Linked DNA regions of Homo sapiens: all the other regions are linked to region 1. The links are contacts of gene promoters, found by promoter capture Hi-C in human tissues and cell types (Jung and others, 2019). All regions are on one chromosome and are shown on one strand. Each heading gives the region's core, a stretch centred on a gene start or on the middle of the fragment in contact. The rest is flanking DNA. Distances are from core to core; before and after follow the strand shown.

What was found. The method cuts DNA at HindIII sites, captures the fragments that hold promoters and counts their contacts. A contact is called where the count stands out against the background at its distance.
Region 2: the fragment with the promoter of POFUT2 here is called in contact with the fragment with the promoter of UBE2G2 in region 1 in 3 of the 25 tissues and cell types used here (dorsolateral prefrontal cortex, liver and lymphoblastoid cells).
Region 3: a fragment that was not itself captured here is called in contact with the fragment with the promoter of UBE2G2 in region 1 in 1 of the 25 tissues and cell types used here (lymphoblastoid cells).
Region 4: the fragment with the promoter of TRPM2 here is called in contact with the fragment with the promoter of UBE2G2 in region 1 in 5 of the 25 tissues and cell types used here (H1 embryonic stem cells, IMR-90 fibroblasts, dorsolateral prefrontal cortex and 2 more).
Region 5: a contact is called between a fragment that was not itself captured here and the fragment with the promoter of UBE2G2 in region 1, in 4 of the 25 tissues and cell types used here (heart right ventricle, lymphoblastoid cells, mesendoderm cells and 1 more).
Region 6: a fragment that was not itself captured here is called in contact with the fragment with the promoter of UBE2G2 in region 1 in 3 of the 25 tissues and cell types used here (IMR-90 fibroblasts, lymphoblastoid cells and spleen).
Region 7: a contact is called between a fragment that was not itself captured here and the fragment with the promoter of UBE2G2 in region 1, in 2 of the 25 tissues and cell types used here (IMR-90 fibroblasts and lymphoblastoid cells).

The regions. Positions count from the first base shown.
Region 1 is chr21:44,799,813-44,804,169 of GRCh38, reverse strand. UBE2G2 (ubiquitin conjugating enzyme E2 G2) reads left to right here and starts at 2,350. Exons shown (of 6, transcript NM_003343.6): 1 at 2,350-2,464. The coding sequence starts at 2,422. LINC01424 (long intergenic non-protein coding RNA 1424) reads right to left here and starts at 1,929. Exons shown (of 2, transcript NR_109928.1): 1 at 1,534-1,929; 2 at 1-423. RefSeq lists silencers at 1,732-1,781, 2,282-2,501, 2,562-2,621 and an enhancer at 2,169-3,124. The HindIII fragment of the contact is 9,913 bases long and covers 1-4,357 here.
Region 2 is chr21:45,285,442-45,289,798 of GRCh38, reverse strand. POFUT2 (protein O-fucosyltransferase 2) reads left to right here and starts at 1,904. Exons shown (of 9, transcript NM_133635.6): 1 at 1,904-2,058; 2 at 3,871-4,121. The coding sequence starts at 1,928. It overlaps LINC00205 (long intergenic non-protein coding RNA 205), which reads right to left and starts at 1,747. Exons shown (of 3, transcript NR_026943.1): 1 at 1,555-1,747; 2 at 361-448. RefSeq lists an enhancer at 563-1,293 and a silencer at 1,448-1,977. The HindIII fragment of the contact is 23,447 bases long and covers 1-4,357 here.
Region 3 is chr21:45,268,162-45,272,518 of GRCh38, reverse strand. It overlaps POFUT2 (protein O-fucosyltransferase 2), which reads left to right. Exons shown (of 9, transcript NM_133635.6): 7 at 2,500-2,680. Among named protein-coding and RNA genes, the nearest start is that of POFUT2, 18 kb to the left of the region's middle. The HindIII fragment of the contact is 5,405 bases long and covers 1-4,357 here.
Region 4 is chr21:44,351,740-44,356,096 of GRCh38, reverse strand. TRPM2 (transient receptor potential cation channel subfamily M member 2) reads right to left here and starts at 2,476. Exons shown (of 32, transcript NM_003307.4): 1 at 2,232-2,476; 2 at 1,361-1,449. The coding sequence starts at 2,396. RefSeq lists enhancers at 2,001-2,050, 2,211-2,260. The HindIII fragment of the contact is 21,861 bases long and covers 1-4,357 here.
Region 5 is chr21:44,374,755-44,379,111 of GRCh38, reverse strand. TRPM2 (transient receptor potential cation channel subfamily M member 2) reads right to left here. Exons shown (of 32, transcript NM_003307.4): 6 at 3,099-3,279; 7 at 1,339-1,400; 8 at 1-115. Among named protein-coding and RNA genes, the nearest start is that of TRPM2, 23 kb to the right of the region's middle. RefSeq lists a silencer at 82-287 and enhancers at 781-1,282, 1,283-1,782. The HindIII fragment of the contact is 6,690 bases long and covers 1-4,357 here.
Region 6 is chr21:45,116,516-45,120,872 of GRCh38, reverse strand. All of the region lies in intron 1 of ADARB1 (adenosine deaminase RNA specific B1), which reads right to left. Among named protein-coding and RNA genes, the nearest start is that of ADARB1, 44 kb to the right of the region's middle. The HindIII fragment of the contact is 3,865 bases long and covers 287-4,151 here.
Region 7 is chr21:45,099,042-45,103,398 of GRCh38, reverse strand. All of the region lies in intron 1 of ADARB1 (adenosine deaminase RNA specific B1), which reads right to left. Among named protein-coding and RNA genes, the nearest start is that of ADARB1, 27 kb to the right of the region's middle. The HindIII fragment of the contact is 4,715 bases long and covers 25-4,357 here.

The sequences.
Region 1 (4,357 bases), core at 1,101-3,600:
GAAAACCCCACCGTATAACATGGGTTAAGCTGTGAGGTCCTTTTTATATTTCAGAACTTTAGTTGCTAAAGATAGAAAGCATTAATTTTATTCTGTACAGTTGGCCTCCCCAGGGTGTGCTGCCCTGCAGTATCACACACTGGCTGCTCAGAGTCCCTGGGACTCCACTACCACTTGATCCAAGTTGAGAGTTCCACGAGTTAGCCAGTTAAAACATAGGATGCCCAGCTAAGCTTGAATTCCACATAAGGTACTGAACGACGTCCCTGAAATGTTGCAGAGAGCCTGGTTCTCTGAAGATAAGGTGTTGTAACAGTCCTGTTGAGGGGAGAGACTGCCATCTTGTTTCAGCAACTCATATTTCAAGTGACTTTTGTCACTTGAAGCTGAAGCTAATCCTGATAGAAGCTGTAAACCACATTTCTGAAAAATAATAATTGGAAAACATACAGTGTTCTGCAGTAAGATGTCTGAAAAAGATGGATAAAATTATGAAAACATCAAGCATATGTTGCAGTGAACATCACGGCATTGACAGTAATGCTTTATTGCCCACATCTCCCATAACTGGAAAAGGGGAGCTGCTCTCCTTTAGGAGCACTGGACAGACTGCCTTGGGGTGTGGGGTGCTGTCTGATTAGAGAGAGAGCAGCTCTTGAATGGGGGAGGAAACACCTCCACTGTGACTTTTTGCACATTGCATTTGCACAAATTACTCTCTGAAACAGTCTCAAAGGACCATGTCATTTTATAAAGCACTGTGGTCATTTGAAAAGATGGAGGTAGACTGAAATTTTGAATTTTGGGGAATTTTCCTACACTATGCATACTTGTGAAGTTTGTATTGTTAAATTTCATTTGATTTGACAAATCCGTGTTAAGAGTATACGATGTCCAGGTACAGAGGCTGCCCCAGAAACAAGACAGAAGTAGGCAGGGACCCATGGCTCTCATGGAACACGCTTTTGGTTAGAGGCAACAGATAAGGGTAATACATTTATAGCATGCCAGTAAGTTCTATAGTACGGTGTGTTGAGTAGGTGTTGCAGAGAAAAAGGTATGCGGTGAAGGCCGGGTGGTGACGGCCTAGGCCACACTGAAGAGGCAACATTTGAGCAAAGACTGAAAGAGCAGGTGGGAAGAGTCGGGGACAAGAGCCGCCAGAAAGTGTTTCCGGGGAGGGAAGAGTCAGGGACTCTGAACCAGGCCAGGGCAGCTGGAGTGGAGTGAGAGGGAGGGAGGGTCTGGGAGTATGGCGGGGTGACCGGAGGCAGAGCAAAGCACTGCAGGACTTCAGCTTTACTGAGTGAAATGGGCGGAGCAGAGTGTGAATGTGATCAGACTTCTTTTCAAGGGATCATCTGCAATGCTGGAAAGGAAAAGACAAATGATAGATTATTGCAACAAACAGCCAGGCAAGAGATGCAAACTTTTTTTGCAAAGGTGTGTGTGTATATACATCCTTGCACCGGACAGCCACGAAGCACCTACTGTGCTGTGAAGTCAGTAAGGATGTGGGTTAAAATCGCTCACCTCACAGCGGGTCAATCGGGAAAGCACACCCACTCACTACAGCCATTATGGGAAAAAGGGCTCGCCCCTTACAGGATCCTCAACTGTGGAGAGGCCGGGAGCCCACGCGGGGCGCTGGGGAGTCTCTCAGCACCCCAGGGGTTCGGGCAGGGACCTGAGCCGCGCCCTCTCTCCCGGGGGTGCCCTGGGGTCGAGGCTGCTCGGCAGAGCCGGCGGTCAGTTCGAGCCGCGGGCCCGAACAGGGCTCTCCCCGCGGCTCTCTCCCTCGGAGTAGAAGGTGCTGGACCCGAACTCCAGCGGAGCCGCACAACACGTGGAGGAAAAGCGCCAGGACAGCTAACCTTCCCACCTTTTCAAACCTGAAACCCGGCCGGCTGGGGACGGTTGGAATGTTCAGTGCGTACCCGCACCTCAGGCCCCTTGTCTCCAGCCCCAGACCGCCCCGCGACCATCCTCCCCACCCCCCGACCTCTTATCTCGTCCCCGCCCTGTCTCCCCAACCTCCATCCTCCCCTCCACAACCCCCGTCCTCCCGCCCTTCGGCCACGCGCGGCTGGCACAGAACAGGCAGTTAGCGCACACACACTGGAACAGGCGCCACCGTTCAGGAAGTCTCTACAAGACCAGGACCCTGAGGCCTCTGGAAGTGCCGGGACCGAACCAACCCCGCAGAGCGACTAAGGCGAGGGCAGGAGCCAAGAGAATCGTAGCCGCGGTCGCGGGTTGAGCTCCCACCACCCGGACAGCGCGCCTCGGCGATCGCGCACGCGCCACGCCCCGGAAGAGTTCCTGGGCCCGCGACGGTGGCCCGGAAGCAGTCCCCGGTGTCGGGGCAGGAGGCACGCGCGCGGCTGAGGCGAGGTCGCTCGGCGCAGCTGTTGCGGGGCCATGGCGGGGACCGCGCTCAAGAGGCTGATGGCCGAGTACAAACGTGAGTCTGGGGACCCGGGCCGTCAGCAGCGTCCCGCGTTCCTGCTCCCGGGCCCGCGTCGTCCGGCGGGGCTGGGGCAGGGAGCCTGGCGGGGGAGCCGGGCCCGGGGCCTCCACCGTGAGCCCCCCTGTGGGTCCCGCGGAGTGCCGCGCCCTGCGCCCGCTGCCCACTCTCACGCGTGAAGTCGTGAAGAGAAGCCTTCCCAGCATCAGTAAAGGCAGCGCCGGCGCCGTGTTAGTTGAGAGCACACACAGTTGAGTCTTTGCGGGCTTGTTTTTTTCTCTTCTATTTTTTCTTTTCTTGGCAGCCTTGAGAACGTGCAGTGAGAGCTTGAGGAAGAAGGCCTGACTTGCTGCTGCGGAATTAGGAGGGAAAAGTGTATGCGTTAAAAGGGGAAAGGCTCGTTGGTGGAGCTTTGAAAGGTCAGATTTTGGCTTTCCCTCTAATGAAGGAAAAGGGTTTTTGAACAGTGCCACCTGTCACTCCTCCTAGGTAGTGTTGAGGAAACCTCTTGAGTGCTTTCCTACCCGGTAAATTAGATATTTCTAATGTCTGAGGAGAGCGAAGGGAGAAATGAGAACCTAGGAACACTCGGCATTCCATCGTTTTACACCGAATGCCCGCTTGGAAGAACTGCTGCGAGAAGTCTTGGAATACCATTGTGTTGAAAGCGCCAGGAGCCTGAGTCGCCGATGGAGACGAGATAGTAGCCGGCTAAGAGCAGGGCCTGAGTTCAGACCCGGCCTCTCTGCTTGTTAGCTCTTTGACCTTGTTCCTCTCTCTGTCTCTGCAGTTTCCTTGTCTTAAAAGGTTAAACTTGATACTGCAGGTGAAGTGCTTAGCAAAATACCTGATGTGTAACCCTTAATAAAGTTAGCTGCTGCTTTTGTAATTAGATTGAGGATAATTTTGGAAGAAAGTTAAGCTAAAAGAATGAATGTGAGAAAAAAAATAAGTGGTGAATATACATGTAGCTTGATTTCGTAAAACTATTGGTGACACCGCCCAGTAAGAGTTGATGTTTGGCTTAAGCAGACCAAAACGTTGCAAATACAGGCTCACTCACGTATGGTCATTCTTCCCTTGGTATCTGGAGGGGATTGGTTCCAGGCCCCGCTGCAGATACCAGAATCCTCGGATGCTCAAGTCCCTACTATAAGGTGGCGTGGTATTTGCATTTAATGTATGCATAGCCTCTCATAACTTTTAAATCATCTCAAGGTTACTTATAGTACCTAATGCAATGTAAGTGCTGCACAAATAGTTACACTGATTTTTTTTACTTGTATTTTTAAATCGTCATTTTTTATTGTTATTTTTTTCAAATATTTTGTATTCCTGGTTGGTCGAATCCATGGATATGCAGCCGCAGATACACAGGGCCTCCTGTAAACGTTCAAATAACGCTCGCCACCTAGTGTCTGCTAAAGCAGAACATAAAGGCACACCTCAGTTTCCCGCGCGCTTTGCTTTATTGAGCTTCACTTCGCAGATCTTGCATTTTTTACAAGTTTACAAGTTTTTTACAAGCAACCCTGCATGGAAGCAAGTCTGTTGGCACCATTTTTGCTCGCTTCGTGTCTCTCTCTTACATTTTAATCTATTACTGTGATCTATGATCAGTAATCTTTGATGTTACTATTGTAATTATTTTGGGGCATCACAAACTATGCCCATAAAAGATGGTAGTCCTAATAAATGTTGTGTGTGCTTCACTGACTGGCTGTTTCCCCATCTCTCTCCCGGCCTCTCTCTTCCCTGAGACAAAACAACATTGAAATTAGGCCAATAGTAACTGTACAGTGGGCTCAAGTGTTGAAGTGAAGAGTTGCACTCTACCCACTTCAAATCAAAAGCTAGAAATGATTAAGTTTAGTGAGGAAGGAATGTTGA
Region 2 (4,357 bases), core at 655-3,154, 490 kb before region 1:
GTATCAATGTATTTTACCCCAAAATATATCTCTTTGACAAATTTTGAAATGGCCCCGCAAAGCGGTGTCTTGTGGGGAAATTCATATTCTGTAGACTCCCCTTCCCTTTCCAGCTCTTTTTCTGATCCTGAGGAGACTGGCTGAGAGTCTAGTGCCTTTTGAAGGTCTGAATAGGAAACATTTGCCATGTATTGCCTCTGAGGGCGGACACCTATGAGATTTCATCCACATAATAAGGACCTCGGTCTCCACAGCCCCTTCTCTTAACCCAGACACTCCTTTCTATTGATTCCAAGCCTTCAGATAGTAACTTCTTTCAACCAACTGCCAATCAGAAACATCTTTGAATCCACCTATTACCTGGAGGCCTTTCCACTTGGAGTCGTCCTGACTTTCTGGATCAATCCAATGCACACCTCACATGTACTGACTGATGTCTTATGTCTCCCTGAAATGAATAAAACCAAGCAGTAAAACAACCGCCTTGGGCCAAGTTCTCAGGACGTCCTGAGGCTGTGTCATGGGTCATATTTGGCTCAGAATAAATCTCTTCAAGTATTTTACAAAGTTTGGCTTTTTTTGTAAACAATAGGCAGATATAAATTCCATTTGCTAATTTTTTTAAATGCTGTGTCTTGGTTCATGAAAGACATTGGTCTGTGGTTCTACTGTCTGGTGATGTCTGACTTTGCTATCAAGGCAATGCTGGCCCATACATCGAGCAGGGAAGTGCCCCTCCTCGTCCATCGTCTGAGTGGCTGGATTCCTATTATTTCTTCTCTAAGTAGGATTCACCAGCTTGGCCCTCTGGGCCTGGAATTTTCTGTGTGAGAAAATTTGATAACAAATTGATCTCAAATTTAACAGATAATAAGCATTAGTATTTTCTTTTTTGGTAACTGGCATCCTTCAAGAAATTCGTCCAATTATACCGTTTTGGGGGCTGCCTGCACTAGAGTCAGCGTGGCGTCCCCTCAGAAGGCCGGGTTTGCCAGCGCCGCGCCCCAAGCCAGGTCGGTCGGCCAGTGCTGGTGCCCTCGGGGAACAGCGGGAGCTGCCTGGAGGCTGCGGGGAGCGGCGGCGGCGGGCACGCACCTGGCTCCCGAAACCAGACCTTTAATAACGCCTCGCAGAAGGGGCGGGGTGGGAGGTTGGCAGCGCAGGGGCGGCAGCCCCGGATCCCCCCAGGTCTCCAGATCACCCCATCGAGCCCCGCGCCCTAGCAGCACAGTCCCTCCAGGGCTCCTTGGAGGGCCAGGCCTCAGCCCGGGTGCCCCCTCGCCGGGGCTCCAGGGTTGGGGGCACCCAGGAGGCCGCAGGTGTGGAGCTCGACGGCGCCCCCCGACTAGAAACCCAGGCTCTCATGCGCGGCTCCCGCCCCGACCCCAGCTCCAGAGGGGCGAGAGCACCCGGCGCCGACCCCGTCTACGGACCCCCTCCTCCGCCCCGCCCCCGCCGTCCAGCCCTCCCGCCCCTACCAGCCCCGGGCCTCCTCCCCACGGACCCGCCCCGCGCCACCAGCCGTCAGCCCTCCCGGCCCCCAGTCTCGCGTACCCTCCCCACTGGCCTGCAGGGTCCACCGACTTCCCGACCCCGGGACCTCCCGACCCCCGGACCTCCCGGCCTCGCGGACCCTCAGGAGCCCCTGCGTGGGCTGCGCCAGGGCGCCCGCGACAGCACCGCCGCGAACCACAGCCACGGCCTCCGGGTCTGCAATGGAACCTCTAGCCGCTGCGGTCAGGAGGGCGGAGACTCTGCGCACGCGCAGTTCCCCCTCCCGCCCCTGCTTGCCGGTGATGGCGCATAACGCATGCGCGGGGAGGGCGGAGCTGGGCGTTGCCGTGGCTACTGGGAACGCATTTCACGGGGGCGGGGCGTGGTTCCGGGGCGGGGCGCGGCCGCCGGAAGTGCGTGGCCGCCCGGGGCCATGGCGACACTCAGCTTCGTCTTCCTGCTGCTGGGGGCAGTGTCCTGGCCTCCGGCTTCTGCCTCCGGCCAGGAGTTCTGGCCCGGACAATCGGCGGCCGATATTCTGTCGGGGGCGGCTTCCCGCAGACGGTAAACGCGCGTCCACGGTGCCAACGCTGGGGTTCCAGGACCGGGCAGGGTCAGAGGATGGGATGGGGGCGGGGCGGGGTCAGGGGCCAGGGAGATGGGATGGGGTCAGGGGCAGGCCCACGGGATGGAGGGTGGTCCGGGGCCAGGGAGATGGAATGGAGCGGAGTTATGGGGCAGGGGCCAGGGGGATGGGATGGAGCGGGGTCAGGGGGCAGGGGTCAGGGGAATGGGATGGGGTCAGGGTTCTGGGGCAAGGAATGTGGCGGAGTAAGGGGCCAGGGTGATGGTATAGGGGCAGGGGGCAGGGGCCAGGAGGGATGGGATGGGGGCGGGGCAGGGATCAGGGCGATGGGATGGGATGGGGGCGGGGCAGGGGCCAGGGTGATGGGATGGGATGGGGGCGGGGCAGGGGCTAGGGCCAGGAGGGGTGGGATGGGATGGGGGCAGGAACGGGGGCCCGAGGGATGGGATGGGGGCGGGGCGGGAGCCGGGGCCAAGAAGGATGGGACGGGGACGGGACAGGGGCAGGGGCAGGGGCAGGGGCCGGGGCCGGGCTGGAGTCTGGGGGATGGGATGGGGCGGGGGCTGGGGGCAGGGTCGGGCCAGCGGGTTGGCTGTAGTCGAGGCTGCGTCACTGCGGCCCGGGTCTGCAGGCGGGGTCGTCTGCGAGGCCCGGGGCGCAGCCTCGGGAGCCCAGGAAGGGGGCCGGGTTGCTCAGGCTGAGCGTGGGCTGGCTCCGGAGGCCCCTGCAAGTGACACGGGTCCAGGCCTGGGTGTGCGGAGCCGGGAGTCAGTGCCGGGCGGGCGCTCCGCAGTGAATTCTCAGGGCCAAGACGAGCTTCGCGGCCGCCCTGTGGCTGTGGGATCTCCAAGCGGACCCCGGGAGGGGCCTGGACGCAGAGGTGTGCACGGCCCCTCGTGGCGTTCGCAGGCCTGGGCGCTGCACGCAGCTTCACTCGCGACGATGGGAGTATGGAAAACCAGCGCAGAGCAGGGAAAGGAGAGCGCCAGGGACAGGGTTTCTGTAGCCCTTGGGGACTTGTCTGTGCCTTGGGGACTTGTCTGTGCCTTGGGGCGCTTTGTGTCCTTCCTCTAGGGCAGTGATCTTAAAGTGTGTCCTGGATCTCTGAGCTTTTGTAGCCGTTTTAATAGTAGTACCAGAGTATTATACGCCTTTTTCACTTCTCATGAATGCACTGTGGAGTTTTCCTAGAAACCACTTGATCTGTGATGTCACAACAGATTGAATGCAGAAACGGGTATGGGAATCCAGCTGTCACCAAACCCAAAAGAGATTTGCAAAAATTAAGAACATCATCACAGTTCTTCTAATTCATTTTTTAAAATACACTTATTTTTTATTTAAATATGTGGTTTTTGTTAACATGTAATGGCTTCTTATTTTTAGCTGAATTAAATACTTGTAGCTTTAACGTCTAACATAGGACGTATCAATAGACATAGTGCACATAACCAGCCGTCAGTCATTGTTTCCAGTGTAAAGGGGTCTTTAAACCAAACAGTTTGAGAACCATGTGGGTACTGATTCTTGGGTTCCAGTCACTGGGATTCCTCTGCCTTAGTGTTGAACTATTGCTAATTGTTAAAACGATGTTAGCATGTCTGCTGCTTCTGCTTACAGGCTCCGTAAGTAACTGGTCATAGAGAAACAGGCCACTCACTGCCTTCACAAACTAGGAACCATTGTTAAGTGCCTAGAGTCGGGCCACGCGCTGAGACTTGTGAGCAGTCGGGTTTTCCGTGCAGAAACCTCAGCATTTGAGACCTGTGGTCCTCCTTCTCCCTGCTCAGGTATCTTCTGTATGACGTCAACCCCCCGGAAGGCTTCAACCTGCGCAGGGATGTCTATATCCGAATCGCCTCTCTCCTGAAGACTCTGCTGAAGACGGAGGAGTGGGTGCTTGTCCTGCCTCCATGGGGCCGCCTCTATCACTGGCAGAGTCCTGACATCCACCAGGTCCGGATTCCCTGGTCTGAGTTTTTTGATCTTCCAAGTCTCAATAAAAACATCCCCGTCATCGAGTATGAGCAGTTCATCGCAGGTGAGGCCGAGCGGCACGCTGGGAGGCCGTGGTTGCTTAACTGGGGCCAGGCAGTCATTTCTAAGGTAGACATCAGGTTGGGCTTACGATTGCATCCAGCCTCACCAGCATCCTCCAGTGCCCAGTGCTGCTGCCTGAGGCCTGTGGCAGCACCTCCTCCGTTCAGGAGCACAGTCCCTTTCCCACGCTGCAGTGAGCTTCCCAAAATGTTTCTCGGAAATGGACCTGAAGTGGAT
Region 3 (4,357 bases), core at 594-3,093, 470 kb before region 1:
CTTTGTTGGCTTTCTGTCTTGATGACCTGTCCAGTGCTGTCAGTGGAGTATTGAAGTCCCCACTTATGTTGTATTGCTGTCTATCTCATTTTTTAGGTCTAGTAGTAATTGTTTTATAAATTTGGTAGCTCCAGTGTTAGGTGCATGTATAATTAGGATTGTGGCATTCTCCCGTTGGACTGATCCTTTTATCATTATATAATGTTCCTCCATCTTTTTTAACTGTTGTTGCTTTAAAGTCTGTTTTGTCTGATATAAGAATACTACTGTACTCGCTTTTGGTGTCCATTTGCATGGAGTATCTTTTTCCACCCCTTTACCTTAAGTTTGTGTGAGTCCTTATGTGTTAGGTCAGTCTCTTGAAGACTTTTGCCTCACAGCTTTCAGGTGGATTTTTTTCCATTCTGCCATTCTGTTTCTCTTAAGTGGAGTCTCTAAGCCATTTACATTCAACTTTGGTATTGAGGTGTGAGGTACTGTATTCTATTCATCATACTAGTTGCTGCCTGAATACTCTGTTTTCTTTCTTTTTCATTGCGTTGTTTTATATGCCCTGTGAGATTTATGCTTTAAGAAGGTTCTATTTTGGCGTATTTTGAGGTTTTGTTTCAAGATTTAGAACTTCTTTAACATTTCTTGTAGAGCTGGCTTTGGGAGTGGTGAATTCTCTCAGCATTTGTTTGTCTGAAAAAGATGATCTCTCCTTCATTTATGAAGCTTAGTTTTGCTGGATATAAAATTCTTGGCTGATAATTACTTTGTTTGTGGAGGCTGAAGATAGGACCCCAGTCCCTTGTAGCTTGTAGGTTTCTGCTGAGAAATCTGCTGTGAATCTGATAGGTTTTCCTTTATAGGTTACCTGGTGCTTTTGGCTCACAGCTCTTAAGATTCTTTCCTTCATCTTGACTTTAGATAACCTGATGACTGTGTGCCTAGGAGATGATCTTTTTGTGATGAATTGCCCAGGTATTCTTTGAGCTTCCTGTATTTGGATGTCTAGATCTCTAGCAAGACCAGGTAAGTTTTCCTCAATTATTCCCTCAAATAAGTTTTCCAAACTTTTAGATTACTCTTCTTCCTCAGGAACACCAATTATCCTTAGGTTTGGTTGTTTAACATAATTCCAAATTTCTTGGAGGCTTTGTTCATTTTTTTTACTATTCTTTTTTCTTGTTTGTTGGATTGGGCTAATTTGAAAACCTTGTCTTCGAGCTCTGAAGCTCTTTCTTCTCCTGTTCTAGTCTATTATTGAAACTTTCCAGTGTATTTCGTTTCTTTAAGTGTGTCTTTCATTTCCAGAAGTTGCAATTGTTTTTCCTTTAAGATACCTAGTTATCTGGAGCATTTTTCATCCATATTGTTGTTGTTGTTTTTTTTTTAATTTCTTTAAGTTGGTTTTCACCTTTGTCTGGTATGTCCTTGAGTAGCTTAATAATGAACCTTCGGAATTCTTTATCTGGCAATTGAGAGATTTCTTCCTGGTTTGGATCCATTGCTGGGGAGCTACTATGATCTTTTGGGGGTACTATAGAACCTTGTTTTGTCATATTATCACAATTGCTTTTCTGCCTGCTTCTCATTTGGGCAGACTACTTCAGTGGAAAGATCTGGAACTCACGGGCTACTGTTCAGATTCTTTTATCCCACGGGGTGCTCTGTGGCGCTCTTCGCCTTCCCCTAGGGATGGGGCTCCCTGAGAGCTGGGCTGCAGTGATTGTTATTGCTCTTCTGGGTCTAGCCACCCAGTGGGGCTACCAGGCCCTGGGATGCTGCTGGGGAATGTCTGCGGAGAGTCCTGTGCTGTGATCCGTCTTCGGGTCTCCCAGCCATGGGTTCCAGCACCTGCTCTGCTGGAGGTGGCGGGGGAGTGAAGTGGACTCTGGGGGGGTCCTTGGTTGTAGTTTTGTTGAGTGCACTGGCTTTCTCGAATGCTGGTTATGCTGCAGTGAAGTTGTCACGTGGACAGACTCGGGACCTGTGGACAGCCAGGAGGTTGCAGGTGGTGGGATTAGCTGTTGCTTTCTCCTTCCTTGGAGCAGGGTTGTTGGTTAGAATTTGCTGTAGCCATTTGCGTTGGTGGCCTCCAGCCAGGAGGTGGCACTGTCAAGAGGGCAGCAGAGCATTCTGGCTCCCGGGGAGTTTGCAGCTGTGAGCTGCTTTGTCCACAGGATCCGTGAACTCTTTGTGGCACGTCCCTGCGGTGGTTCTCGGAGGAAAAGTTCACAGCGTGAGCCTCCACATGCTGTTCTCTTTTTAAATATTTTTCTTTACCTCAGATAAAATGATTTCTGGTAATTAATACTGCTTCACTGTCTTCTTAGAAAGACATCTGGTCGCCCCCGAGATTCCACCTGAATCCCTTAGACAGCCCTGGAGCCACCCCGTGGAGGAGGCCACATGGAAAGGGTCATCCCTCTGCGTCTCGAGTCCCACCCGGTGCCCAGGATGAGCCCCGAGCCCGCCTGTCAGCTTCTGCATTTCCTTGTGGTTCTTTGCTAGGTCAAGCTGGGCTCCGCGCTAGGGGGCCCCTACCTGGGAGTCCACCTGAGAAGAAAAGATTTCATCTGGGGTCACAGACAGGATGTACCCAGTCTGGAAGGGGCCGTGAGGAAGATCCGCAGCCTCATGAAGACCCACCGGCTGGACAAGGTGTTTGTGGCCACAGATGCCGTCAGAAAGGGTATGGAGCTTCAATGCTTTCGTTTCTTTCCTTTCTTTTAATTTATTTTTTTTATTGATAATTCTTGGGTGTTTCTCACAGACGGGGATTTTGGCAGGGTCATGGAACAATAGTGGAGGGAAGGTCAGCAGATAAACAAGTGAACAAAGGTCTCTGGTTTTCCTAGGCAGAGGACCCTGCGGCCTTCCGCAGTGTTTGTGTCCCTGATTACTTGAGATTAGGGATTGGTGATGACTCTTAACGAGCATGCTGCCTTCAAGCGTCTGTTTAACAAAGCACATCTTGTACCGCCCTTAATCCATTTAACCCTGAGTGGACACAGCACATGTTTCAGAGAGCACAGGGTTGGGGGTAAGGTCACAGATCAACAGGATCCCAAGGCAGAAGAATTTTTCTTAGTGCAGAACAAAATGAAAAGTCTCCCATGTCTACTTCTTTCTACACAGACACGGCAACCATCCGATTTCTCAATCTTTTCCCCACCTTTCCCGCCTTTCTATTCCACAAAGCCGCCATTGTCATCCTGGCCTGTTCTCAATGAGCTGTTGGGTACCCCTCCCAGACGGGGTGGTGGCCGGGCAGAGGGGCTCTTCACTTCCCAGTAGGGGCGGCCGGGCAGAGGCGCCCCTCACCTCCCGGACGGGGCGGCTGGCCGGGCGGGGGGCTGACCCCCCCACCTCCCTCCCAGACGGGGCGGCTGGCCGGGCAGAGGGGCTCTTCACTTCCCAGTAGGGGCGGCCGGGCAGAGGCGCCCCTCACCTCCCGGACGGGGCGGCTGGCCAGGCGGGGGGCTGACCCCCCCACCTCCCTCCCAGACGGGGCGGCTGGCCGGGCAGAGGGGCTCTTTGCTTCCCAGTAGGGGCGGCCGGGCAGAGGCGCCCCTCACCTCCCGGACGGGGCGGCTGGCCAGGCGGGGGGCTGACCCCCCCACCTCCCTCCCGGACGGGGCGGCTGGCCGCCCGGGGTGCTGACCCCCCCACCTCCCTCCCGGACGGGGCGGCTGGCCGGGCGGAGGGCTGACCCCCCCACCTCCCTCCCGGACGGGGTGGCTGCCGGGCGGAGACGCTCCTCACTTCCCAGATGGGGTGGCTGCCGGGCGGAGAGGCTCCTCACTTCTCAGACGGGGCGGCCGGGCAGAGACGCTCCTCACCTCCCAGACGGGGTCGTGGCCAGGCAGAGGCGCTCCTCACATCCCAGATGGGGCGGCGGGGCAGAGGCGCTCCCCACATCTCAGACGATGGGCGGCTGGGCAGAGACGCTCCTCACTTCCTAGATGTGATGGCGGCCGGAAAGAGGTGCTCCTCACTTCCTAGATGGGATGGCGGCCGGGCGGAGATGCTCCTCACTTTCCAGACTGGGCAGCCAGGCAGAGGGGCTCCTCACATCCCAGACGATGGGCGGCCAGGCAGAGACACTCCTCACTTCCCAGATGGGGTGGCGGCCGGGCAGAGGCTGCAATCTTGGCACTTTGGGAGGCCAAGGCAGGCGGCTGGGAGGTGTAGGTTGTAGCGAGCCGAGATCACGCCACTGCACTCCAGCCTGGGCACCATCGAGCACTGAGTGAACGAGACTCCGTCTGCAATCCCAGCACCTCGGGAGGCCGAGGCTGGCGGATCACTCGCGGTTAGGGGCTGGAGACCGGCCCGGCCAACACAGCGAAACCCCGTCTCCACCAAA
Region 4 (4,357 bases), core at 1,227-3,726, 450 kb after region 1:
CTGGGATTACAGGCGTGAGCCACCGCGCCCGGCCCAAAAATACAAATTTTTTAAATGCAGTATAACTATTTTTATAACATCTACATTGTATCAGGTATTATAAGTAATCTAGAGATGATTTAAAGTATGCTGAAGGATGTACATAGTTTATATGCAAATACCACACCATCTCATATCAGTGACTTGATATGAGATTTTGGGACTGATACGAGATATGGGATTTTGGTGTCCGTGGGTGTCCGGGAACAATTCCCCAGGGATGCGGAGGGACAGCTGTTGTATTGGTGACCGTGAAACTCTGATGATGTACCGAGTACACTAGAGGTACCCTGGGGCAACACAGTCTTCTTCTATTTCCCAAGCACAGGATGCTTCTCCCTCCCCATATTCAGTAAATATGAGCTGAAGGCCACTCTCTGGGAATTAACACAACACTCTGCTTTCGTCCCAGCCCCCCAGAAGCTCAGCAGCTAGCAAGAAAGATGAACACAAAGCCACACAGTTACAGCACGACAGCTGGGATCAAAGAGAAACACACGGTGCGGTAGGAGGGAAGCTCACTTCCTGGTAGAGGTTGTATAGTCACGGAAGGCTGCACGGCAGAGGCAGCATCTGCAATAGGCCTTGAGGGATAAGTAGGAGCTCACCAGGCAATGGAGTAAAAGGAGGAAGCGTGTGGCCCATTTGTGGAAGAGCATGAAATGGGTGTTGCTCGGGGAGGGCACACAAACATGAATCAACACTCTGTCCGTGCCTAAAGGGGCGCCAACTGCGGGGAGCACCATCGGCTCCGGAGGGCCATATCCAGCCACTCAGAGACAGTGGCCATGTTGCCTGGGCGGGGGTCTTGGCCACACCTGAGTCGTGGGCTCTGTGGGGAGGAGGGGCAAAGGGGGCTCTGTGGGGCCTGGGGGCAAGTCGGGCCTCTGGCTTTGGCAAGCTGTGCAGGGGGGCAGTCTTCTGGCCATGGACTCTCCCTAAGGCCCTTCCAGTTCCTGGACCCTGGGACTCTCTCTCTTGGGGTGGGGGCAGGTGTGGAAATGAGAGGATTAGAGGATGCATCTGTGTTCACACCACTGGGCCTCGCCGCGCGACAGTGCCCTTATGACCCTGAACAAGTCACCTAAACTCTGCACTTTGGTCCCTGCACCTGCGAGGCAGGATGAGGGTCAACTGTCCCCGACAGGAGGCTTGCAAGGGTTAGGTGGAAATGCTCTGTGGACTCTAAGCCTCGTATGGAGACAGAGGTATCTCCAGTGACCCTTCACTGAGGCCCTGAGGGGTCTTGGCCTGATCAGCTACTCCATGTGGGATCGGAAGGAAGAAGTCAGAGGTCTTACACACAAATCACGTCACTTACCCAGCATCAGACAGTTTGGAACTTTCCACAAAATACACGCATTCTTTCTTCTTGATGTTTTCAGGAATCCACGAACTGAGGCTTTCTTGCTGAAGGTAAAGACAGCACACTGAGATCTTCCAACATTCGAAAGAGCACACCCAGCCCCCTGGAGACACATCTGAGCTCCTTGAGGAGCTTTCACACTATTTGCTTGAAGGAAGGAAGCCTGCGCGACCCTGAGCCAAAGATTAGAAGCACCTTGCCAAGACTCTCCGGTGGGGATTCAGGAGGGAGGAATGAATCTAAGAAATCATTTCCTCTTGGGACCATTTTGAATGTGCGCGCACTTTACAGTTTCTACAGCACCACCACCTTCCTTGGGAACAACATGGTGTGGTGGAAAACGTGGAGGCTGGGGATCTGGGGACCTGGATCTTGCACCATCGGAAAAAGGGCAGCCACCCTCCTGCCTGCCTGGCAAGGGGACTGCAAGATGCCATGTGCTTTCAACATACTTGTGTCTTTGTATCCAGGGCTTTGGGGAAAGCTAGCCCAGGCCCAGGCCCTCCCAATCGGATAAAGGATGTGAAATCATTATGCAACAAGGTAAGCACGGGTAACAGATTTCCAGGACTCTAGCGCAACATTTTTGAGTTAACCCGGTGATTTCCCAATCAGACCAACCATGGGAAATGGTCATGCAACCCACAGAAGACGAGACACGCATCACCCTCCCCAGTTCTGTTCTCCCAAAGGTATGGTTGGGCAGGAGCCCCCAAGGTCAGCAGACCCTTTCCCACCCCCGTCGTCACAGCCTCAAGCTATGACCTGCCCAACGGTGACCTCCGTGGCCACGTGCCAACTGCAGGCTGACCAGCAGAAAGCCTACCTTGTCATTGTTGCCGAAGGGGCACTGTAGCCTCCAGCTCTTGAAGAGGCTGCTGTTGCTGCGCCGGAGATTGGAGACCATCCCCAGGTCAGTGACCCTTCTGGGCAGCCCCTCAAAGCCCTCCTCCTGCTCCGAGCCAGCTTTCCTCAGGGCTGAGGGCTCCATTCTGAGACCCCCACGCCAGCTGCAACCAGGCCTGCTGCCCTCAGGACAGTCCTCTCTCCAGCTCGCTACACTGGGGTTCTAGAGACACATGGGGTGGTTGCTGAAATAGATCAGAGACAGGAAGATGAGGCTGATGTTCTGAGAGGACCTGGCCACATGCTTCCTCATGTGAAGCCCTCATCCGGTTCTCTTCATCAGCCTGCACATGTTCCCAGCTGCCTGAGCTGTGTCCCTTGGCTGGGGCCCCCGGACACTCTGGGGGAGTACATGCACATGCGGGGGTCCCAGCGGCCGTTCATAATGGTAACAACCTCAGGTGACTGCAGGGCCAGAGAAAGAGCTCCCTCCCCCACGGGTGCAGCTGCACTGAGCACCGCACAGGGAAGTCTCCACCGCCAGCACCAGCTGCCAGCGACATGGTTTCGCAACTGTACAATTCTGCACAGCTCCTGCTTCCAGACACCAGTGACTACTTTCATATTCCAAAATTTTTTTAAATAGCCCTCACTGTCCACAAAGGAAGTTTCTTTTTCTTCTTGTTTTTTGAGACGGAGTCCCACTTTGTCGCTCAGGCTGGAGTTCAGTGACGCAGTCTCGGCTCACTGCAACCTCGGTCTCCCTGGTTCAAGTGATTCTCCTGCCTTAGCCTCCCCAGTAGCTGGGATTATGGGCGCCAATCACCACACCCTGCTAATTTTTTTTGTATGTAGTAGCAACAGGGTTTCACCATGTTGGTCAGGTTGGTCTCAAACTCCTGACCTCAGGCGATCCACCAGCCTCCGCTTCCCAAAGTGCTGGTTTTACAGGCGTGAGCCACTGTGCCCAGCCTAGAAAGGAAGTTTTGGGGAGTACCACATCTCTCCACTCCAGGAAAAAGACAATAATTCAAATGAATCTTTTTCTCTCATATCCTTTCCCCCTGGCTCTGATGTGGCCTTCATCACCGAGGCCACAAGAAGCCACCGGATGACTGCCCTCCCTTTACAAATGAGAAACATAAGCATGTTCAAGCCCTGCGGGGCCTCCCTGAGTCCCTGACACCCACAGTGTTCTCATGAGGTCATCCATGGTCATCCCCTGCCACTGCCCCAAAGGTGTCAAGGGGAGGGTTGCTGGGATGCAAAAGATCTGACTGGAATCCCCCCTCATCCCTGCCCTGAAACCAGATCTCTGGCCACGTCCTCTCCACTACACACGACGGTCACTGTCAGACAAGCCTTTGCTCTGCCGTCCCCTCATCACATTAGGTGACTGAGCCCCTCTTCGGGGCCACGCAGCTCGAAGCTCGGTGCCGGGCTCTTGGGGCTGAGCTACGGGCTGCTGTCCTGGGGCGGGCACTCTCAGGCAACCCCACCTCCCCCTCTCCCTCCTCCCCTTTGCCCCTTGGCCACACTCATTCCGAGACCCGTAAACTTCACTGGCAGGATGGCAGGGGTGCCCTGCCCGGCCTTTTCCTGCAGTTCTCAGAGCAGATGTTGTGCCGCATGCCAGTGGGGTCTTTCCAGGGCCATGAGCTGTCCCCGCAGCCACTGGCCCGGCTTCACAACCAGCTTCCGAGGGAAGCAGAGGGGCAGAGATGTCCCCAGTGGCAGGAGGAAGAGGAGGCTCTAGAGAGATCGCAGTGGCACCGCAAGGGGACCCAGACTGCAGGTGGCTCCCCAGGCAGGCGGTCCACCCTGCACGGGATGAGGATGGCTCCACGCTGGAAACGAAGACCCCAGCATCAGACGGGAGGGTCCACGGTGTGGGACTCTCTGCCTTAAGACCAGCATGTTCTGTTCACACGCTCATCTTTCAGGCAGCTGTCCACCTCAGCACAGCCCCTGGGGTCTTGTGCAGGTTCCTCTAATCCCAGAGGCAAGCAGGCCCTGGGAAGCAGGTCAGACCTGCTCCAGCACCACCCGACTTTGCAGGAGGCAGCCAGGAGCCCCTGTGAGCATCTGATGCCCGCTGTGGGGGGG
Region 5 (4,357 bases), core at 1,027-3,526, 420 kb after region 1:
AGATAGTGATGTCCGAGACAGGCAGGTTGGCCACCTGGGCAATGACGTCGGCCACGCGGCCCGAGCCCTCCACAACCACACAGGGGGTGCCGTTGGTGGTGGCGTTGTCGATGGTCTGCAAGGCAGGTGGGGGTGTGAGCCCGGGACTGGGTCCTCACCGCTCCGATGCTTTCTGAAATGGAGAATTCTCCAAGGCCAGCTAAGGGCAGAGCTGGCTAACACTACTCCGAGATCCACTGAAAGCACTTATTAGTTTCGTGGCGTCCCCTGCTCTGGGGGAAGAGGGAGCTGCCCCAACACACTGGGGGCTGCACACCTGGCACCTCTCAGGCCTCAGCTCCAGCAGAATCAAAGACTCCCAGCATTTTTGCCCATGGACCTGCAGACGTGAGGGCCTCGCAGCAAAGGGGACGCTGCATGGACCTGGAGTTACCGACCTCATAAAAGCCCACAGTAAGAGCAGAGCCATGAGGAGGGCACCTGGGCTCCAGGGTGTGCTGGACTTCGGGAAGGGACTGGACACAAAGCTGTCTGGCAGGAAGGACTCTGCCGTGTGCATGAGCATCGGCCTGGGGTAAGGAGGCGGGTGCAGCCGCCCCAGCAGAAGAGCCGTGAAGGGTACTCGGCACGCATAGGGAGTGAGGACCCAGTGCTCTATGGATTCCCATCCAGCCTCAAGCCCCCAAGGCTCTGTTTTGACCTCCTGCAATCATGAAACATAAACGGGACATTGCCTGTGATCCCATCCTTCACAAAAGCCCATACTCTTGCTCCAGATCCTCAGGCTATATGTCCTCGTACATTCCTACAGCAGGTGAGGTCACCTCGCACCCTGCACGCCACAAAGCAGTTAGGGTTAGGGTCGGGAAGGAAGGCCGGCAGAGCAGCGCATTCAAGCTGCCTGCCAAATCTGCAGTCACACAGCTGCTGGCACCACGGATCTGGGATGGGGGCCACAGCCCTGTACTTTGAAAAATGCTTCCTGGAGGAATCTTGGGGGCAGAGTTGTAGAAACCCCCCAGCCTCCCCAGCAGGTCCTGGGAGCAGAGGCGCCCCACTCACTCCAGGCCCTGGGGCCCCACCCTTTCCTTCCACGCCGGTCAATGGCCCAGTCATAGCCAAGCCCAGCCTCCTCCTCCAGGCACCTTCCTCCGACCCGTCCTCCACCCACCCAGAAGCAGCCCCGACACAGCGTAGATGCTCTTTCTCTTCTTCTGGTGGGAAAGCTCATCGCCCTCTTGCCAACAGTCTTGAGTTCTGAGACAAGCACTTTTGGACAGTCATCTGCCTGCAGCAGGACGGGCCCACACATGCCCCCTCCCACCTGGCCATACTCACGTGCAACGTGCCCGGGCCGCCCTCCAGCACCACGCACACGATGGGGATCTTGATGGCCACACCTAGAAAAAGCACACAGCCGAGTGAGGGCCACACCTAAACAAAGCACGGAGCCGAGTGAGGGCCACACCTGAACAAAGCATGGAGCCGAGTGAGGGGACAGAGGTGGGGGGCAAGACCCTGCACTGAGGGCACTCTCCCCTGCCCCCTGCTGGCTCCAGCCTAACCACACACTGAAGCACCTGCTGGGAGGCCTCTTGCCAGTGCTGAGTCGCCGTTTAAAGTCAAAGCTCCACATTCCCAGGGGACCTGCCTGTTCCACATCAATGAGCAGACTCAAGAGCCCCCCGCCACCCACACTTCCCCGCTCGCTTGCTTCCCATCCACCCCTGCCTGCTTTCTTGGGAGGGAGGGAGAGGGGCTATGGACAATCAGAGCTGAGGCCCCAAGCAGGTGGCACAACCTGCCACGCGTGGATGCGAGCAGCATGCGGCACGTCCATCCTGTGTCCATCCGCCCAGCCCCACCCTGAACTTCATCCAGCCCAACAGCAGTGGAGCCTGAGAAGGACTTGGCAACCCCTTTCCCCAGGCAGCAAACTCTGTCTGTGAGCCCCCCATGGGCCCATCGTCTTCACACACTCACCCACACATCCCACCCCAGATGTCCTAGTCAAGCAGGTTCTCAAAGTGTGGTCCCTGAACTGCAGCATCGCCCTCACCAGGGAACGTGCTCCTACTAGTCAAGCAGGTTCTCAAAGTGTGGTCCCTGGTCCCTGAACTGCAGCATCGTCCTCACCAGGGAACGTGCTCCTACTAGTCAAGCAGGGTTCTCAAAGTGTGGTCCCTGGTCCCTGAACTGCAGCATCGCCCTCACCAGGGAACGTGCTCCTAATGCAAGTTCTCAGCCCACCTGGAGCTGCTGAGTTGGACCCTGGGGCTGGGGCCCACAAGCTGGTGAGGAACCCTCCAGGGGAGTTCGATGCACAAGGAACCCTGCAAGGGACCCCAGCCCACCCAGCCACAGGTCAGACACCTCCCGTTCACCATCTCCTCTTTGAACCCTCCTCAAGTGATATGCAAAACCCCGCACTTGACCTCCCGACGTCCTCAAACCCATCCCATCCCACCTATGAGGAAAAAGGTATCAAATCCTAAGTTTTGACTATCGTACATTCTGATTTCTGAACCTGAGAGCAGACCATGATCAAGGTTTAAAATAATTGTAGGGCCAGGCACAGTGGTTCAAGCTTGTAATCCCAGCACTTTGGGAGGGTGATGGGAGGATCCCTTGAGCCCAGAAGTTCGAGGCTACAGTGAGCTGAGATCACACCACTGCGCTCCAGACCCTGTCCCAAAAAAAATGTAGGTTGGCCCATTACCTGCGAGCACACAGGTGAGCTGCCAGCCCCCCAGACCGCCCTCCCACTGGCTAAAATGGGCAAGAGAAGATGACCCTCCTGGAACAAAGTATAAAGAGACACGGGAAAGAAACCCAGGTGTGTTCTGAGGACGTTCCGAGTACCATGAACATCCTGGTTGTGACCAGCTGTACCTGACAGTCTGACCAGCTCACCGCGCTCTCTGCCGAGTGCCACGAATGACCTGTGACCAGCTGTACCTGACACTCTGACCAGCCCACTGCACTCTCTGCCAAACGCCAGGCCTGTTGAACGTCCTGGTCGTGACCAGCTGTACCTGACACTCTGACCAGCCCACTGTGCTCTCTGCCCAATCACCCTCGAAAGCAAGCTCCCCTACCTCCTCTTTCCTTGGTCTGCTCCGATATGAACTTCTCCAGCCTGGTCCTCAGAGGAATCTCCACCCCGTACTGGCCGTGGGTCCCGTCGTCCACGAGGATGAAGTGAGAGTGGTTGCTGTCTAGGCAGGTCAGGTTCCCTTGGCCATCCTCATCCAGTATGTACTCGGCGGGGAAGCTGCCCTGGGATGGCCAGGAAGCGTCAGACACTGCTTCTGGAAAGCTCTGCCTCTCTAACGCGAGCAGGCTGAACACCGGCCCTCACAGAGACCAGGTCCCAGTCCCTGGAATCTGTGGACGTGGCCTTATTGGAGAAAGCGACTTTGCACATGTGATCGAAACATGAGATTAACTTGGATGATCCGAGTGGGCCCAAAATACCATCACAGGTGTCCTTACAGGAGAGAGGTGGTGGGGGACACACACAGGAGAGGAGGCCGAGGGACCACAGAGGCAGGGGCAAGTGACATAGCCACAAGTGGAGAAAGCCGGACCCCCCAGGAGTGGAGGAGGCGGGGAAACAGACGTGTGACCCTGACTTCAGAGTTCTGTCCTCCAGACACGTGAGAGACCACAATGCTGCTGTTTCAGGCTTGAGGCCATTTGTTACGGCAGCCACAGGAAACGGATACAGGTCTGGGGTGAGGAAGTGGGCTGCTGCTGCAACAAACACCTAAAAATGTGGAAGTGGCATTGAAACCGGCAATGGGGAGACGACGGGAGGATTTAGAAGCACCATGAATGGAAAACGTCTCAACGTCCTTGAAGAGAATGTTGGTGGGAATGTGGTATTAAAGGCCTTGCGGAGACGGGCGCGGTGGCTCACGCCTGGAATCCCAGCACTTTGGGAGGCCAAGGCGGGAGGATCACCTGAGCCCTGGAGTTCGAGACCAGCCTGGACGACATAGCGGATCTCATGTCTACAAAAATGAAAAAATTAGCCGGGCATGGTGGTGCACACCTGTAGTCCCAGCTACTTGGGAGGCTGAGATGGGAAGATCACTTGAGCCCGGGAGGTCAAGGCTGAGGATCGCACCAACATACTCCAGCCTGGGCAACAGTGAGACCCTGTCTCAGAAAAAAAACAACTCGCAGTAAGGGCTCAGAAGGAAGTGAGGAGCAGGGCAGAGAGGGCTTTGTTGCCCTAGAGCAGGGGTCCCCCACCCCCTGGGCCATGGACTGGTAATGGTCTGTGGCCTGTGAGGATCTGGGCTGCTCACAGCAGGAGGTGGGTGGTGGGTGAACGAGCGAAGCTTCATCC
Region 6 (4,357 bases), core at 970-3,469, 320 kb before region 1:
TCTCAATCATTCAAACTGGTATTTTTGTAAATTTCCATTAGTAGAATAAACCTCACGCTGTTCTCAAAATATACACTACCTGTGGAAGATAAAAAAATGGAGGATAAAGAAAGCTGATAAAATGAAAACAAACATTGTCGCCAATAATGAAAGTAAAGGCCCAGCACACACAGCTTCTCCACATTCCTGCCCTTGCTGGAGGAAGACAATAAGCTCGGAAGTTGCCCCCAGAGCAATGCGGTGGCAGGGGTGGTGTCCTCAGAGGGTCCTAGTGTGTCCGTGATAAGGCCATCATGAACAGAACCAAAGAAGGCAAAAGGGAGACATCTGGCCTTCGCAGGCTTCCTTAGAGTGTTTTCCACACCTGTGAGGATCCTGAGCGAGTGCCAGGAGGAGACGGAAGAAGTGCAGCTTCACACTCCTCTCCAGAGCAGGCATTCAATCGACAGTTCACGAATGGGCTTCAGGAAGACAATGAGAAGTGTGAAATCATATATGAAATGATGCGTTCATATGCACAGATGAATTTTTCTAACGAAAATGTAAATGGATTTAATCAGATATTCAAAAGAACCCAATACCCCACAAGTGTGCCAACATCTGACATGCAAACTTGTCCGTGCGGTAGAGGCCAAAGACAGCCCTCACCATGGGCTGTGAGATGACCCAAAACCCAATCCTTTCTTTGGCACTTCACCAACAAAATTTCATAGCCTTTCTTTTCTCAGTGCAACTAAGGGCTAGTCCATGGTAACCTACGAAGTGAATTATTACGGGGCACTAAAATTTAAGATTTATAACCTAAACCTGAGGTGTTACTAGGCTTTATAGAGGTCTAGTTCAGTATCAAGAAGGGAGGCTCCTGTGCAGAGCTGCAAAGCTTGGTAATGCGCCCACGTGGGGGCCACAAAGTCCTCATCCTCAGAAACAGCATTTCGTGCGTTACCAATGACAGCTTTATTTATAATGGATTTCAATTACCAACACTCTTGCTTTTATCATTTCGATGTCCATTTTCTCATGTTCACAGCAGTTTAATGTGGGCTGTCTGGGTATATACCACGATGACAATTCATAGTTTCAGGAGCCATGATTTTTCAACAACTTATAAGTACCCTAAGTCATCTCCGTCTTTATTTCGAAACAGATGTATAGAACCTCCTCTAAATTCTGATGCAGCAGTAACATTTTATTTGTTGGTGATGTGCTGATTAAGAGTATATGAAATTTAACTAACTTGCAACACACCATCAAGGCAAGTGTAACAAAGTTACCCAGCTATTTTTAAGTTTATGGCCACACTCTTACATAGTAAAGAACAACACGTCTCATAAGAACTTCTGTATCAAAAGTACCTAAACTGGTTCATTTAATTTCATCCCGATTCTTTGATAATGTTGAGTGATATTTCCACTGGAGAGCAAGAACAGCTACTGGTAAAGGTGACCAAGGCACTAATTTTGCCACTGAGAGTGATCTAAAAAGGCTTTTAGGCTAGGCACAGTGGTGTGCTCAGCACTTTGGGAGGCCAAGGTGGGAGGATGGCTTGAGCCTAGGAGTTCGAGACCAGTCTGGGCAACACGGCAAGACCCCACCTCTACAAAAAATTTAAAAATTAATCAGTCAATGTGGCACGTGACTGTGGTCCAAGCTACTCAAGAGGCTGATAACAGGAGTATTGCTTGAGCCCAGAAGGTGGAGGCTGCAGTGAGCCACGATCACACTACTGCACTTCACCCTGGGTGACAGAGCGAGACCCTGCCTCTAAATTAATTAATTAAAAGGGCTTTTAATTAAAAATGGTGATAAAGTACACCATATCTTCTCTCCATTCTTCCCAGAGCTCTGTTAAAATGTCAGAAAAGGTACTTTTTGGTGGTGAATGAACCATAATAGTGCACGGTGCTAAAAATTTACAGAGGGATTTAGCAGAACACAAGAAAGCCTGCCAGGGCTTTTAGGGCATAAGGCAGACGAAAGCAGGTTGATGCGAGAGAGCAGAGGAAACTGCAGAGCAAGACAACAGAGGTGAGGGGTCTTCCCAAGAAGCAGGAGCCATAGGGAACGCTTTTATTCCTGGGCTGAAACCTGAGAATCGCTCTCCAAAGAAAGCCTGAGGTTTTCTAAGGGGTGATCCCAATATGGGCACGCGGGCTGGAAGAGAAGCAGATCCGGGTTTAGGGTAACGAAAAATCAAACCGTCAGGACATGAAGCCCAGGGAGGGAGAGAAGGAGAGAGTAGAAGATGTTTACCTGCAGTAGAACAAGGATCAAACGGATATCCAACTTCTCATTACCAACACTAGACTCTGGAAAATAATAGAGAATATTTTCTGATTTCAAAAGGAAAATTATACGATCCTAGAATTCTAGACCCTACCAAATTATCAATAAGTATGAGAACAAAGTAATTGCATGTTTGAACATTACGTGCAAAAACCCAAGAAGTCTGTCAGCCATCCATTCTATAAGGAAGTGAATTAAGAAGTCTGTCAGCCATCCATTCTATAAGGAAGTGAATTAAGAAGTCTGTCAGCCATCCATTCTATAAGGAAGTGGATTAAGGAGGTGCTCCAGCAAAACAAAAATAGAATCCAAGAAACCAACACCATGGGATAGGAGAAACCATGGCAACTGAGGCAGCTAGAAACAGCGGACACCTAAAGAGAAACTGGGAGTTCCATCTGAATATTCTCCTTTTATTGGCAAAGGTTTGGTGAGGCAGAATTACATTTCATACCACTTGGTTCTATGGCAAAATATACTATCATAATACTATAAATGTTACTTTTCTTATATTAAAATGTTTAGACTACACTTGCAGGAAAAGCACAGGGAGCCTAATGATAGATGGGAAACACTACAAATGTTTTAAGCCTTGTCAATATAAATCTCATCAAAACTCAGAGTGTGAAGGCACTGTTGACTTCCACATGAACTCACAAACAGAAAAGTTAAAGCTATAATGGTGACTACAAGAAGAACTTAAGAGAAGAAAACACAAACTGTACATTGTTTACCTCTGGAAACGGGGCATGGGGTGGGGAGGGAGAAAGAGGAAATCTCCAACTTAATTTATACCCATTCATGAGCTGCAATGTGTTTTTTACCATGTGCTGGTATTACTTCCATTTTTTAAAATAGTTACATTAAAAGGGCCCCCTTATCAATAGCTGATCCATTAAATAACTGCAGTACATCTATAGGACAGAATAATATGTTCTTGTAACAAGTGAAGTAGCATGAGCATTGCGTTAGTTATATAAAGTCAGAATTTTAAAGAAGCTTTTTTTTTTTTAACTGTGAAAGAACAAAGATAAAGTGTCACAGTCCTACGAAGAGAACGGCACTACCTGTACTGACATGCAGGATGTGACGGGACAGCTGCGTTATAGAGAGATGTGCACAGAAAACCCCTGTGTATCTCAGAAATCCCATATACATAACAGAAACTCCTCATCTATTATATATGCCAGAATCCAGTGCTGACACAAACTAGTGGGTACGTACCCTTCCATATTTTTCCTATGTACACACACACAACATTTTGTAAGCCTAAAAAGCTGGCACAAAAAGCAAACCAACTTCACAAGGACAAGCCAGAGAGTCCTTGGGGGATGTCCTCCCAGGAAACTCAAAACAGCAGCGGCTAGGTCTCCCTGGAGAAGGAGGCTGGGAAGAGCATCTGATAGAACTGCTCCCTTCATCCTTCGAGGGAGCAATCCAGGAAATGCAAGGCTGTCTACTTCACATGGTTTCCTGAGGATATGGGTAGAAAACATTTCCAGTAAAAGCTTTACTAAAATGTTATACAGTGAAAATTAAAATACAAACCATTCCTCCATGCGCCAGTGTCATCTGCTAATTTGTACAACATCTTGTTTCAATGACCTGAGAGGCCTACACAAATAGGTAGAGTAACCACAGTATATCAATTATGCTGAGAAAAGAAAAAAAAAACATATACATGAAAAAAGACACAGATATTGTTTGGCCATGTCCCCACTCAAATCTCATCTTCAATTGTAGTTCCCATAATCCCCACGTGCTGTGGGAGGGACCCAGTGGGAGGTAATTGTATCATGGGGGCAGTTACCCTCATGCTGTTTTCGTGATAGTGAGTGAGTTCTCACGGGATCTGACGGCTTTGTAAGGGGCTTTTCCCCATTTTGCTGGACACTTCTCCTTGCTGTTGCCATGTGAAGAATGATGTGTTTGCTTCCCCTTCCACCATGATTGTAAGTTTCCTGAGGCCTTCTCAGTCATGCTGAACTGTGAGTCTGTTAAACCTTTTTCCTTCATAAATCACCCAGTCTTTGGTATGTCTTTATTAGCAGTATGAGAACACACTAATACA
Region 7 (4,357 bases), core at 1,133-3,632, 300 kb before region 1:
TTCATTATATATTACAATGTAATCATGGAAAGAAAATGCACAATAAATGTAACGCGCTGGAATCATCCCCAAACCATTCTCCCAGCCCCCACCTCGGCCCATGGAAAAATTGTCACCAGTCCCTGGTGCCAAAAAGGTTGAGGACTGCTGGTTTAACGGACCAGTATTAATTAACACATTGTTATTAACTGAAATCCACACTTTCGTCAGATTCAGTCGTCCAGGATCCCACGTGACATTGAGATGTCATGGCTCCCTAGGCCCCTCTTGGCTGTGAGTTTCTCAGACTCTTCTTGGTTTTTGACTGTTGAGGAAGCTGTCCCTCAGCTGGGATCTGTCTGATGTTTTTCTCATGGTACAGGAAGGGACTGAGTTTGGGGATGAAGCCCCCAGAGGTGAAGGCCCACTGTCACTCCACTGTATCAGGCACACCCTGTCACCGTGACTGACCACTGTGAGGCTGACCTGGCCCCTGCTGGGTTGAGCCCCCCGCCCCACTTCCATGCTGTCCTCTCTGGAAGGAAGTTGCTCTGCACAGCCCTTGCCTTGGGGTAAGGGTTGTGCTCCACCTCCTGGAAGACACAGCAGATACAGCAGATGCAGAGATGATCTGGAATTGTGCTGGAAAAGGAGCTTTGTCTTTTCTCCTCATTTATCAGTCATTTATTTATGTCAGTCTGGACTCATGGATATTTATTTATCTCTGGGCTATAATCCAATACTACTTTGTTTTGTTGTAGAAACTGTTCCAGCTTTGGCCACTGGGAGCTCTTTCAGTTGGCTCCTGGGTCCCTTTGACACCACCCATTGATGTGGGTGTGGTTATGTTTGTTTCTCGGCATTTCCTTGCCATTTCCTTGGCATTCCTGGCACTTGTGTTATTTCCTGCCCAGTCCTAGAATCAGCTATTTCTCCAATAAAGAATGCTCACTCTATTTTTTATATGCTGTTTTATGGAACATGCAGCTACATGTTTAAAAAATATAGTTGTGGTTACAGCTGGTTTTGCTGACTTGAATCCATCCCCTTCTTTCTGACAACAGCACCCCAAATGTGCTGAGGAAAGTGCCTTCTCCCATTGAACTGCCTGCGTAATTACTTCCAAGAAATCAAAAATTATTTTAAACCCTTGTGCTGATAACAGACAGACACCAAGGTAAGGAAGATAATTATAGAAATTCTGATTTAGAATTAAAATAAGCACATTGGCCAGGCATGGTGGCTCACATCTGTAATCCCAGCAACTTGGGAGGCCGAAGAGGGAGGATCGCTTGACGCCAGGAGTTCAAGTCTAGCCTGGGCAACACAGCAAGACTCCGTCTCTACAAAAAATAAAAAAAGTTAGCTGGGTGTGGTAGTGCGCCTGTAGCCCCACAGTCCCAGCTACTCAGGAGGCTGAGGTGGGAGGATCACTTGAGCCTGGAAGTTGAGGCTGCAGTGAACCATGATTACCACTGCACTCCAGCCTGAGTAACAGAGTGAGACCCTGTCCCAAATAAATAAATAAGCACAAAATATGTTCACTTTAAAATAAACCATGTCTGGCAAAAGTATGTCCACCACTGTAACTACTGACCCCTTACACAATTTTAAGCAGCACTCATCTCCCACGTAATAGTCAGCAAGACTGGTGTGCTAACATACCCAGCATTCAAAAACTCCAAAAGCTTGTGTATTAAGTATACACTATCCAGAAAATTTCACATGCTTTCTGCTTCAGGAAAGAAATATTAAAGCTCTACGATGGTGAAGTTCATTACAATTTCCAAAAGCAAAAGGATCACTGATTACTTAAGAAGCAACGCTTCCTTTAAACTCCAGTACAGGAGGTAAATGTTAAACGCTAGCAAATCTTTTGAGAAGCATTAAAAAAGGTTTTCGTTACATCACAGGTATACTTAATCATAACGTCAAAGCCTCTAAAACAAAAACTCTGTGCACGCACTTCAGGAGTTTTTCCCACGTGCCGCGAAAGAAGGGAGCCTAGGTGTCTGGAGAGATCCTCTGCACCCAGCACTCGGCGACTGGCAGCGGGCATTTCAGCACCTGCTAAAGCCCGCTGGGCAGCTTGGCAGCGCCAGGCGCGGGGCTGCGGGGACACGGCCCGCCCGCGCGCAGGGCACAGCGAGCACGTGAGCGCAGAGCCAGCTCCGGAGCGCTACGGCGCGCGTGGCGGCACACCTGCTCCCCGAGGCTGATCGTTAACAGCCGTGGGCAGGGGTTGGGCCAGGGTACAGCTGTCAGGACCTCACTGGACAGGACCGGAGAGGACCCCGCGTAACCGCGGAACAGACACTCCCGGCAGCGGCCGCCGCCGCGGCACTGCTACGGGACGAGCCGGAGCGCTTGGCCATGGCGGCCCGATCCGCACTGGCGCTGCTGCTGCTGCTGCCAGTCCTGCTCCTGCCGGTGCAGAGCCGCTCAGAGCCCGAGACCACCGCGCCCACCCCTACCCCAATCCCGGGTGGCAACTCGTCAGTGAGCAGGCCCCTGCCCAGCATCGAGCTCCACGCCTGCGGCCCATACCCCAAACCAGGCCTGCTCATCCTGCTGGCCCCGCTGGCCCTGTGGCCCATTCTCCTGTAGGGACGCCCAGCCAGCCACCTCTAAGTCGCCGCTGGGACTGGCCTGCCCCATTGAGCAACAGAGACGCTTGACAGCCGCCCGCCTCCATTCCTTGACTTCACCCAGAAATGGGTCCAGAAAACTGAATCCCACCAGCACTGGTTTGGAGCAACCGGACACCGAGGTTTCACCTCCAGGGATTCCATGAAGAGCCTCAATGGAGATGCCACATCCTACTGAGTTAAAGATGGGCTGAGGAACTTGGGTACCCACAAGTCTGCCTTGGGAATCAAAAGAAAATATTTACCTTTAGTTTGGTTCATTAAATGCATGAAGTCAAAATATGACCAGGTAGTGTGCGAGGCCTCCTTGTTCTGGGTAGAGCTGGGAAGGGCAGGGATGGCAAGCGCTCCCTAAGTCTGCCACCTGTAGCCTTGCAGAGTTCTCTAGGAAATGCACTGCTGCTCTGGTGTTCAGTGCAATGCAGTATTTGACTTGGGAACAGTGACTGACGGGGGCCAGTGCAAGCCTAGTTAGTAAGCCCAGCCTGTCTACTCCACTCTCACCCACACATCCCCATTCTTCCAAAGAACCTTGTAGCTATCATTTCAACCTAGTTCCAAAGAGCAGACATACATAATCTCACATAACCTGCAATGCTGCTTTTTAAATTTCTGTATATGTTGAATAATTTTTACAAGTTAAAAGTGACCTTTTTAAACATATATTTTTAAATCTTTAACACGGGGGGAGAAAAAGGAAAGTTTTGGAAAGGGAAGACTAGAAGCTTGGCTGGTTCAGTTCACACAAGTTTTACACTATTTCTATCCATGTGTTATCTTTATAAATCCACATTTGGAATACTTCCCATATAAATATCTTTAGATAGAAACTGAGACTAAGCCTTGAGTAGCTTCTGGAAAGTAACCCCAACACCACCACCAAGTTGCACACACACCAATGTCCAGCATCTAGGAGGGCTTCAGGGCCCCCACAGCCCAAGACGTGCCAGCCCAAGAGAGCACTCCCAGAAACTCCAGATCCAGCCAGCCTCAGAACAGCATGTGAACACTTCACACGGGCTTACTGTGCATGTTTTGGATTGAGCCTTGTGTTCAGTAATTATGCTTGGATTTACATAACTTAAAATGACATATTTTAACATAAATTGTAAATTTTTATTTTTTATTTTTTTGAGACAGAGTCTCGCTCTGTCACCCAGGCTGGAGTGGTCCCCTCCCAAGGTTCAAGTGATTCTCATGTATCAGCCTCCTGCTCGCTGGGATCACAGGTGTGCGCCACCACACCCAGCTAATTTTTTTTGTACTTTTAGTAGAGATAGGGTTTCACCATGTTGGCCAGGCTGGTCTCAAACTCCTGACCTCAAGTGATCCACCCGCCTCGGCCTCCCAAAGCGCTGGGATTACAGGCGTGAGCCACCCACCGCGCCCAGCCTGTAAATTATTTTTTTAAAAAGGCTTGCAGAGCAATCCGAAGACCCTAATTTAACAGGCTGTATACTAGGCACTGAAGGATGATCAACTATAGCTTCATTAAAGGAATAATGAAATTGCTGCTCTCCCACAGGAAATTACAGTTCCCCGGTCACCAGCCCTACCACCACCCCCTCCTCAAGGAGAAATGTGGAATCAACAACCCTTAAGAGAAATCCTGAGAGGGAAGACATGCGTGAAAATCCCATTCAGGCTATGATCCACGGCTAAATTTCAGTCCCAAGCATCTATCACATGTCACCTCTAAAGCGCCATCTGTCTGCTGGTAACACTACTAC